Linked DNA regions of Homo sapiens: region 2 is linked to region 1. Evidence: promoter capture Hi-C in 16 types of primary human blood cells and fetal thymus (Javierre and others, 2016). All regions are on one chromosome and are shown on one strand. Each heading gives the region's core, a stretch centred on a gene start or on the middle of the fragment in contact. The rest is flanking DNA. Distances are from core to core; before and after follow the strand shown.

What was found. Contacts are between HindIII fragments. The CHiCAGO score rates a contact against its expected background, and 5 or more counts as called.
Region 2: a fragment that was not itself captured here is called in contact with the fragment with the promoter of IRF2BPL in region 1 in 1 of 17 cell types (neutrophils); the score reaches 7.1 in neutrophils.

The regions. Positions count from the first base shown.
Region 1 is chr14:77,027,458-77,031,989 of GRCh38, reverse strand. It overlaps IRF2BPL (interferon regulatory factor 2 binding protein like), which reads left to right and starts at 3,282. Exons shown (of 1, transcript NM_024496.4): 1 at 3,282-4,532. The coding sequence starts at 4,198. It overlaps LOC107984638 (a long non-coding RNA gene), which reads right to left and starts at 4,522. Exons shown (of 4, transcript NR_190002.1): 1 at 4,179-4,522; 2 at 2,510-2,702; 3 at 2,254-2,329; 4 at 418-2,163. LOC105370579 (a long non-coding RNA gene) reads left to right here. Exons shown (of 2, transcript NR_169510.1): 2 at 1-431. RefSeq lists an enhancer at 1,709-2,229 and silencers at 2,993-3,122, 3,323-3,532, 3,653-4,152. The HindIII fragment of the contact is 11,624 bases long and covers 1-4,532 here.
Region 2 is chr14:73,051,116-73,055,647 of GRCh38, reverse strand. No RefSeq gene overlaps it. Among named protein-coding and RNA genes, the nearest start is that of RBM25, 5.2 kb to the left of the region's middle. The HindIII fragment of the contact is 4,879 bases long and covers 391-4,532 here.

The DNA.
Region 1 (4,532 bases), core at 2,033-4,532:
AGCCAAAGCTAAGGAGCCCCAGGCTGGCGGGGATGTCAAACCATTTCCCACCCCTATGTTTTGACTCACTCCAGGGTAGCGGTAGTGTGGGGAGGGCTGAAGTCTGGGAGAGTGAGGCAATGCTCCCCAAGCAACTCTTTGCAGAGGAATCACTGCAAAGTGCCAGCAGGCCAGAGAAAGTTTATTATTGCTCTAGAGTGCACAGTGAGCTCACTGTTTTGCAAAAACAGAAATCTGGCTGCTTTGAGATGAAAGAGGGGCTCCCTAGGGCTCCTCCTCCTCTTCTGTCCTTAAAAACTCGCCTTTCCTTTGCACTCAGGGGCCCCAGAATGAGTGGGAGATTGGGGCTCTGGGGAGGGTTGGATAGGGGAACAGGCTCTGGAAGTCAAGTGTCAAAATAAAAGTAAGTATCTCTTGTTGCTTCCACTGAACTTTATTGCAATTACTAGTAATAAGAGTGATAATAGTGATCCTCACAATTTATGCAGTTTACTAAGTACTGTCACATGTCAACCAGCAATAGTACCAACACTAGTATCAATACTAATAATAACTAACACTAACTGTGAGTCCAACACTGCTCTCCATTCTGTATGGTGTATTTAAGTTACAGTCTGGTAGTGACAGATCTACAACTTCTGTATATAGAACTCAGTGGTACAAATGCGCTTGGAAGGGGAGGCTGGGGGTTGGTTATGAAGGTGTATTGGCATAGTACTTACGTAAGATTGTATGTAACACCAAATCAACTGGGGCTGATGGGAATTTTGAGCACCCCAAACCACCTCTGCAAGCCTGAGCTTGTCAAAGACACCTCAAATCAGATTTACTGGATTCAAATCCCAGCCCCATCACTAATGGCTGTAGGCAAGTTATATAGCCTCTTTACTTTCCTGGTTTGTAAAATGGAGGTAAAAGAATCTACCCTGTAGATAATATTAAGGGTTTAATACTGTAATAGGCCGGTCACGGTGGGTCATGCCTGTAATCCCAGCACTTTGGGAGGCTGAGGCGGGAGGATCACCTGAGGTCAGGAGTTCGAGACCAGCCTGGCCAACATGGTGAAAGTCCGTCTCTACTAAAAATACAAAAATGAGCTGGGTGTGGTGGCGGGCGCCTGTATCCCCAGGTACTTGGGAGACTGAGGCAGGAGAATTGCTTGAACCTGGGAGGTGGAGGTTGCAGTGAGCTGAGATTGCGTCACTGTACTCCAGCCTGGGTGACAGAGTGGACTCTGTCTCAAAACAACAACAAAATACTATAGATAATATCCCCTTAATAATGTAGATAATATTAAGGGTGATGCAAGTAAAGCCACCTAGTTTACTAAGGTCCCACGGCAAGTCTAAGTAAGCGTTATCTCTTCTTATGACAAGAAACAAATTGAGGCCGGGTGAGGTGGCTCATGCCTGTAATCCCAACACTTTGGGAGGCCAAGGTGGGTGCATCACTTGGGCCCAGGAGTTTGAGACCAGCCTGGGCAACACGGCAAAACCCCATCCCTTTCCAAAAATACAAAAAAATTGGCCAGGTGTAATGGCACATGCCTGTAGTCCCAGCTACTAGGGAGGCTGAGGTGGGAGGATTACTTGAGCCTGGGAGGTCAGGCTGCTGCCAGCCGCGAGTGTGCCACTGCACTCCAGCCTGGGCAACAGAACAAGATCCTATCTCAAAAAAACAAAAAACCGAAGTTGAAATCTCAAACAACCCTAACAACCTGGGAGCTATCATTCCATTCTCTTTTCCATGGAAAAGAGAGATTTTGTGGGTAACTAGCTTAAGGGTGGAGAGCCAGTTAGTGATGGAGAGGAAATTTCAATCTGGTGGGCCACACTTCAGAATCCGAAATCCCATTATATTGCTTTCCCTTCTCCAGCCTTCCCTGGGATTATCTCAGTTTTCATGAAATAAAAAAAAAAAAAAAAGCAAACCCAATAATTAGAATAATCAATAGAAATGCCCCAACTAGAGCTATGACCAACATATCCATCGTGCCATAAGCAATACTGATGAGCAGTGATCTTGTAAGGCAGAAGAAATCACGGCCTTGGCCGGGCGTGGTGGTTCATGCTTGTAATCCCAGCACTTTGGAAGGCCGAGGCGGGAGGATCACCTGAGGTCAGGAGTTCAAGACCAGCTGGCTAACATGGTGAAACCATGTCTCTACAAAAATACAAAAAATTAGCTGGGCCTGATGGCGGGTGCCGGTAATCACAGCTACTTGGGAGGCTGAGGCGGAAGAATCGCTTGAACCTGCGAGGCAGAGGTTGCAGTGAGCCGAGATCGCGCCATTTTGCACTCCAGCCTGGGCGACAGAGCAAGACTCCGTCTTAAAAAAAAAAAAAAAAAAAAATCACGGCCTTGTTCCGCCTTCTGGGGCAACATGGAGTGAGATCACAGCGCCTGAGAAAGAACTTTGAAAACTGCGGCTGTGCTTTACAAAAATGTATCAGTATTATTAAATGCTGCCTCCACCTTTTAAAAATCAAACTCTAGAAAAAACACTCACCTGTTTGGCCTCTCCGGCCCCTCCCCCTCCCTGCCCTGAACTGCAGCTGTGCGCAGCCAGTTGCCTGTTTTCCTTAAAGGCCTCGGGGTGCTCGTATCTTCTTCAGACGTTCAGCCAAAATTTTTAAAGTGCGGCTGGGGGGAAGGGTAGCGCACTCTGAATTCATTTAGCTCTATCGTTGAAGCCCGGGTTCCTAGATCAGGGCACAAAAACAAATAGAAAAGACAATTTCTGGAAGATTGGAAAACAGCTAATTTTGCAGGTGCTTCGGCATCAGTGGTGGCGATGAATTTAACATCCATGCCGGGGGGGATAAGGTTCAACCGCAGATGAAATGGTTAATACCTTATACGAAATTCACGGCGAAAAATCCTGAAACAGGACATTTAAATTCACTGCCGAGGCTTGGGGGTGGGGTGGGGAGCAGGGATCGGAAACGACGCTAGTGGTTCTTAAATGCGTTTTTACTTGGGAATGCCCGGCAGGGAAAGGAAAGGTCATCGTCTGTTTAATTTCCACCCCCAGCTCTGGACTTCCAGCATTAGCTCGCCGGGCCTCAGCTGTTGTACACACACGGCGAGGGGGGAGGGGAGGGCGGAGGCGCGGAGGAGGGGCCGGCTGGGAGGAATCTGGGCGTCCTGCCGCGCATGCGCCTTGCCTGAGCAACAAGTGGGCTCCACAGAGGAAGTGTAAAGGGGAGGGGGAAGAACTGGTGCAGAGCATGGCGGTGACGTCAGCGCTCCGCCCGGGCGGCATCCCGCGCGGCCAAGCCGGGGACAGCGCGAGCCGCAGCCGGAGCAGGAGCGCCGAGACGCGCCTCCGGAACGTAGAGTAACAATCACAACCCCACATTCCGGGCGAGCGTGAGCACGAGCGGGAAGGGATGCGACCCGGGCCGAGGCGCCGCGCGAGCGCCCTGCAGCCAACGTGAGCGCCGCCAGCCGCGGCGGCCCGGGCGCCGGCCAGGCCTGGGGGCGGCGGGAGCCTGCGTGCGTGCACTCCTCTCCTCTGCTCTCGTGCGTCCTGGAAGCAGTGGCCGCGGCGGCTCCCTCCGGGGTGCAAACCCAGTCGCCGCCAGCAGAACGGCCGACGCTGCGGAGGGGAGAAGGTCCTTTCTCGGCTGCCACCCCCTCCCCCGGTCCTCCGGGGAAGCAGCGGCTTCAGCAAGATTGGACCCGGGCACCGGGTGGCACTGAACCCTCTGGCCCTCGCCCCAGGGGGCCCGTCGGGGAGAGGACGCAGCTCGTAGGGGGGTCCCCGGGGAGAGGAAGAGACAGCCCCTTTCGAGCTTCCACGCACCAGCCACTCCGGGGAGGGGGCCAAGAGGCAACGGCGGCCACCACCGGGCACCCTCGCCCCCTCCCCTCGGGCCGGGAGCTTCCAGCCCAAGTCTGCAGCACCAGGAAGAAGGCGCCTGAGCTCCCCTCGCGACGAGTCAACCGCAGTAGGAGGTGGGGGCGAAGAGAGGGCTGAACCCGTCCGCTGCCCGGGCGGTGGAGCCCCCACGGCGAGGCGCTGCGCCGGCGGTGGAGACTCGCGTTCCCTCCAGCCCCTGGGGCAGAACTTTCTCGCCCCCCCTCCTCCCTCCCCCGCAGTCGGACTCCCTCCCCAGCCGGCCAGTCCTCCCGGAGGAGAAGGCGCCGCGGAGACAGCCCGGGCGGGGGCCTACCTTCCCCAGGGCAGGCATCATGTCGGCGGCGCAGGTGTCCTCGTCCCGGAGACAATCTTGCTACCTGTGCGACCTGCCCCGCATGCCCTGGGCCATGATCTGGGACTTCTCGGAACCCGTATGCCGCGGTTGCGTCAACTACGAGGGCGCTGATCGCATCGAATTCGTGATCGAGACAGCGCGCCAGCTGAAGCGGGCGCACGGCTGCTTCCAGGACGGCCGCTCCCCCGGGCCGCCGCCGCCCGTCGGGGTCAAGACAGTGGCCCTGTCGGCTAAGGAAGCGGCGGCGGCGGCGGCAGCAGCGGCGGCCGCCGCCGCCGCCGCGCAACAGCAACAGCAACAGCAGCAGCAGCA
Region 2 (4,532 bases), core at 1,581-4,080, 4.0 Mb after region 1:
CTAACCAGACCCCCTTAGGACACAGGAGTAAACTTACAACCTAATCAAAACCTGATGATTTAGTCACCCCTCCCTTTTTTTTTTTTTTTTTTTTTTGGTACTAGCCACTGTTTAAAGCATTTTGCAAATATCAACTCCTTTAATCCTCATAACAACCCCCTGAAGTAAGAACTATTGTGATACAAATGAAGAAACCAAGGCTTGCAAAAATTAACCTATCAAAGGCTACAAAAATAGTAAGTGAGCCAGTCTGGTTCCTGAGTTCGTGCTCTGGAACATTATACTGCTTCATCCTTTCAGGAATAATCCTAAAAAGAAGGGGAGGGGTCTCTATATTTTTCATTTAAATTGATTTTTTTTTTTCAATTTAAGCTTAGGAGGATTTAAGCTTAGAATAGATGGGGATGAGAATGAAATCACAGAAGAAAGCAGAAGTAAGACAGGGTGAGAGATTTTTGACAATATCAGTTGAGAAAATGGTTCATTCATTCATTTTGTTTGTTTTTTGGTTTGTTATTGCTGTTGTTATTTGAGATAGGGTCTCCCTTTGTTGTCCCGGCTAGAGTGCAGTGGCATGATCACGGCTCACTGCAGCCTCAACTTTCCAGGCTCCAGCGATTCTCCCACCTCAGCCTCCCAAAAGCCAGGATTACACTGAGCCCGGCTGGCTCAGCTACTCCTAAAGCCAGCTGTTCTAGGCTTATCAGTATGTAACCCAATACATTACTTTTCCGAAATCAGTTTGAGTTGAGTTTTCTATTCCTTACACAGAAAGAACTCTAAATGATACACTTATATACCACTTGTAGAGAACAAGCCAAGCCATTCATTTGCGATGCCAGTTATCCTCCTTCTATTTTTTTCTTACAAATCCTTGCTAAGGAAACTGTAGATAATTAATTTGGATATTACATTCTGTGTGCATTTGGACACCATTCTTTTTTTTTTCTTTTTTTTTTTTTTGAGATGGAGTTTTGTTCTCATTGCCCAGGCTGGAATGCAATGGCATGATCTCGGCTCACCGCAACTTCCGCCTCCCAGGTTCAAGCGATTCTCCTGGCATAGCTTCCCAAGTAGCTGGGATTACAGGCACATGCCACCATGCCGAGCTAATTTTGTATTTTTAGTAGAGGTGGGGTTTCTCCATGTTAGCCAGGCCGGTCTCCAACTCCCGACCTCAGGTGATCCACCTGCCACAGCCTCCCAAAATGCTGGGATTACAGGCATGAGCCACCACACCTGGCCTGGACCCTATTCTCATTGGCCACATCTGACCCAACTAAACAGCAGCATACCAGGAAAAATGTTGTTTAGCTGGAACTGAGCAGATCTTCTCAAAAATTGAAACTGGAGCCCAGCACAGTAGCACACACCTGTAGTCTCAATCATGAGGAGAGAGGATTGCTTGTGTGTGTGTGTGTGTTTGCGTGTGTATGCATGGCCATCATTATATATATATATATATATATATATATATATATATACACACACATAAATACATATACATACATAAATATATATATATATACAATGCCATTATATAGTATATAATGGCATAAAATATATAAATATAATACATATAATGCCATTATATATATAATATATGTGAATATATATAATATATATGTGTATATAGAGAGAAGAAGATAGAGAGAGGAAGCACATTAACACAGAATCTAGAGATCAAGGCTGGACTACCCAGCAAGGTGGAGTAACTGAAGTTTACCAAGTTAAGTCAGGACTCTGAAAGGATGTTAAAGTGCTCCCTTGTTAGTAATAGTCCTAGGCTCTTGACAGAAGCAAACATAGTTCCCATGGAGAAAAGAATCCCTAATTTAGGCTTCAGGATTCTGATATCAAATGTGAGCTTAAAATTTAAAAATGCAGGCCAGGCATGATGGCTCACGCCTGTAATCCCAGCGCTCTGGGAGGCTGAGGCGGGTGGATCACCTGAGATCAGGAGTTTGAAACCAGCCTGACCAACATGGAGAAACCCTGTCTCTACTAAAAATACAAAACTTAGCCAGGTGTGGTGGCACTCACCTGTAGTCCCAGCTATTTGGGAGGCTGAGGCAGGAGAATTGCCTGAACCCAGGAGGCGGAGGTTGCAGTGAGCCAAGATGGCACCACTGCACTCCACCCTGGGTGACACAGCGAGACTTAGTCAAAAAAAAAAATTGACCGGGCAATGTGGCTCACACCTGTAATTCCAGCACTTTGGGAGGCTGAGGCAAGCGGATCACCAGAGGTCAGGAGTTTGAGTCCAGCCTGACCAACATGGAGAAATCCCGTCTCTACTAAAAATACAAAAAATTAGCCAAGCATGGTGGTGCATGCCTATAATCCCAGCTACTCAGGAGGTTGAGGCAGGAGAATCGCTTGAACCTGGAAGGTGGAGGGTGTGGTGAGCCAAGATCACAGCATTGCACTCCAGCCTGGGTAACAAGAGTGAAACTCTGTCTTAAAAAAAAAAAAAAAAAGGCCAAGGGCCAGGCATGGCGGCTCACACCTCTAATCCCAGCACTTTGGGAGGCCGAGGAGGTGGATTGCTTTGAGCTCAGGAGTTCAAGACCAGCCTGGCCCACATGGTGAAACCCCATCTCCACTAAAGTACAAAAATTAGCCGTGCGTGGTGGCACATGCCTGTGGTCCCAGCTACTCAGGAGGCTGAGGCAGGAGAATCAGGTGAACTTGGGAGGTGGAGGTTGCAGTGAGCTGAAATCGCTCCACTGCACTCCAGCCTGGGCAACAGAGTGAGACTGTCTAAAAAAAAATTAAAGTGCCAAGAATATTAGGAATGAGCCACCATAAATGCAGCATCACACACACATACACACATGTGCACACACAAAACCAACAGACTTAAATTCCCAATTCAGATATTGAAATATTAGATATGGAATATAAAAAGACTACATAGGAAATCTTTAAAGGGATTTTTCTTAGGCTGAGGACAGTGGCTAACGCCTATAATCCCAGTGCATTGCGAGGCCAAGACAGGAGGATCACTTGAGTCTTGGAGTTTGAGACCAGTCTGGGCAACATAGGGAGACTCTGTTTCTAAAAAAATTTTTTTTGTAATTAGCCAGGCATGGTGGGGCACAGGTCAAGGCTGCATGAACCATGATCACACCATTGTACTTCACCCTGGGTGACAGAGTGAGACCCTGTCCCACTCTGTAGAAGAAATAAGTAAATAAATAAATAAATTAGTCATCAATAGATGTTGAATTTTATGGAATTCTTTTTTAGCAATTGTTGAAATGAACATATTAATTATCAATGATAAAACCTTAAAACTTTGAGAACATCTTATGAATTCATGATAGGGAAAGATTTCTTTTTTCTTTTTTCTTTTTTTTTTCTTTTTTTTGAGACAGAGTTTTACTTTGTCACCCAGGCCGGAGTGCAGTGGCGTGATCTTGGCTCACTGCAACCTCCGCCTTCCAAGTTCAAGGAATTCTCCTGCCTCAGCCTCCGGAGTAGCTGGGATTACAGGCGCCCACAACCACGCCCAGCTAATTTTCGTATTTTTAATAGAGACGGGGTTTCACCTTGTTGGCCAGGCTGGTCTCGAACTCCTGACCTCAAAAGTGATCTGCCCGCCTCGGCCTCTCAAAGTGCTAGGATTACAGCCATGAGCCACTGTGCCCCGACAGGAAGGATTTCTTAAGGAAGATACTATAAGCATAACCTAAACAGAAAAGATTGACAAATCCAACTATATTAAGAACTTTTGATATATTGAAAGTCACCATCAAAAAAAAATGTTGGCCGGGCGCGGTGGGTCACGCCTGTAATCCTAGCACTTTGGGAGGCCAAGGCGGGTGGATCACGAGGTCAGGAGATCAAGACCATCCTGGCTAACACAGTGAAACCCTGTCTCTACTAAAAATACAAAAAAATTAGCCAGACGTGGTGGCGGGCGCCTGTAGTCCCAGCTACTCGGGAGGCTGAGGCAGGAGAATGGCGTGAACCCGGGAGGTGGAGCTGGCAGTGAGCTGAGATCGTGCCACTGCACTCTAGCCTGGGTGACAGAGCAAGACTCTGTCTCAAAAAAAAAAAAAAAAAAAAAAAATCTTGAATATGGAACATGAGCACAGGGGAAGGAAATAGCATTGCACTTATAAGCACTGCACTTTAAGTAGAAAATACAATGTCTTAAGTAAAACTGTATTTAATATTGGCAAAAAAGACCAGGCACAGTGGCTCACGCCTGTAATCCCAGCACTTTGGGAGGCCGAGGCGGGCGGATCACAAGGTTAGGAGATCGAGACCATCCTGGCTAACACGGTAAAACCCCGTCTCTACTAAAAAATACAAAAAATTAGCCGGGCGTGGTGGCGGGCGCCTGTAGTCCCAGCTACTCGGGAGGCTGAGGCAGGAGAATGCTGTGAACCCGGGAGGCGGAGCTTGCAGTGAGCTGAGATTGCGCCACTGCACTCCAGCCTGGGCGACAGAGCGAGACTCCATCTCAAAAAAAAAAAAAAAAATACAAACATTAGCCGGGCATGGTAGCATGTGCCTGTAAT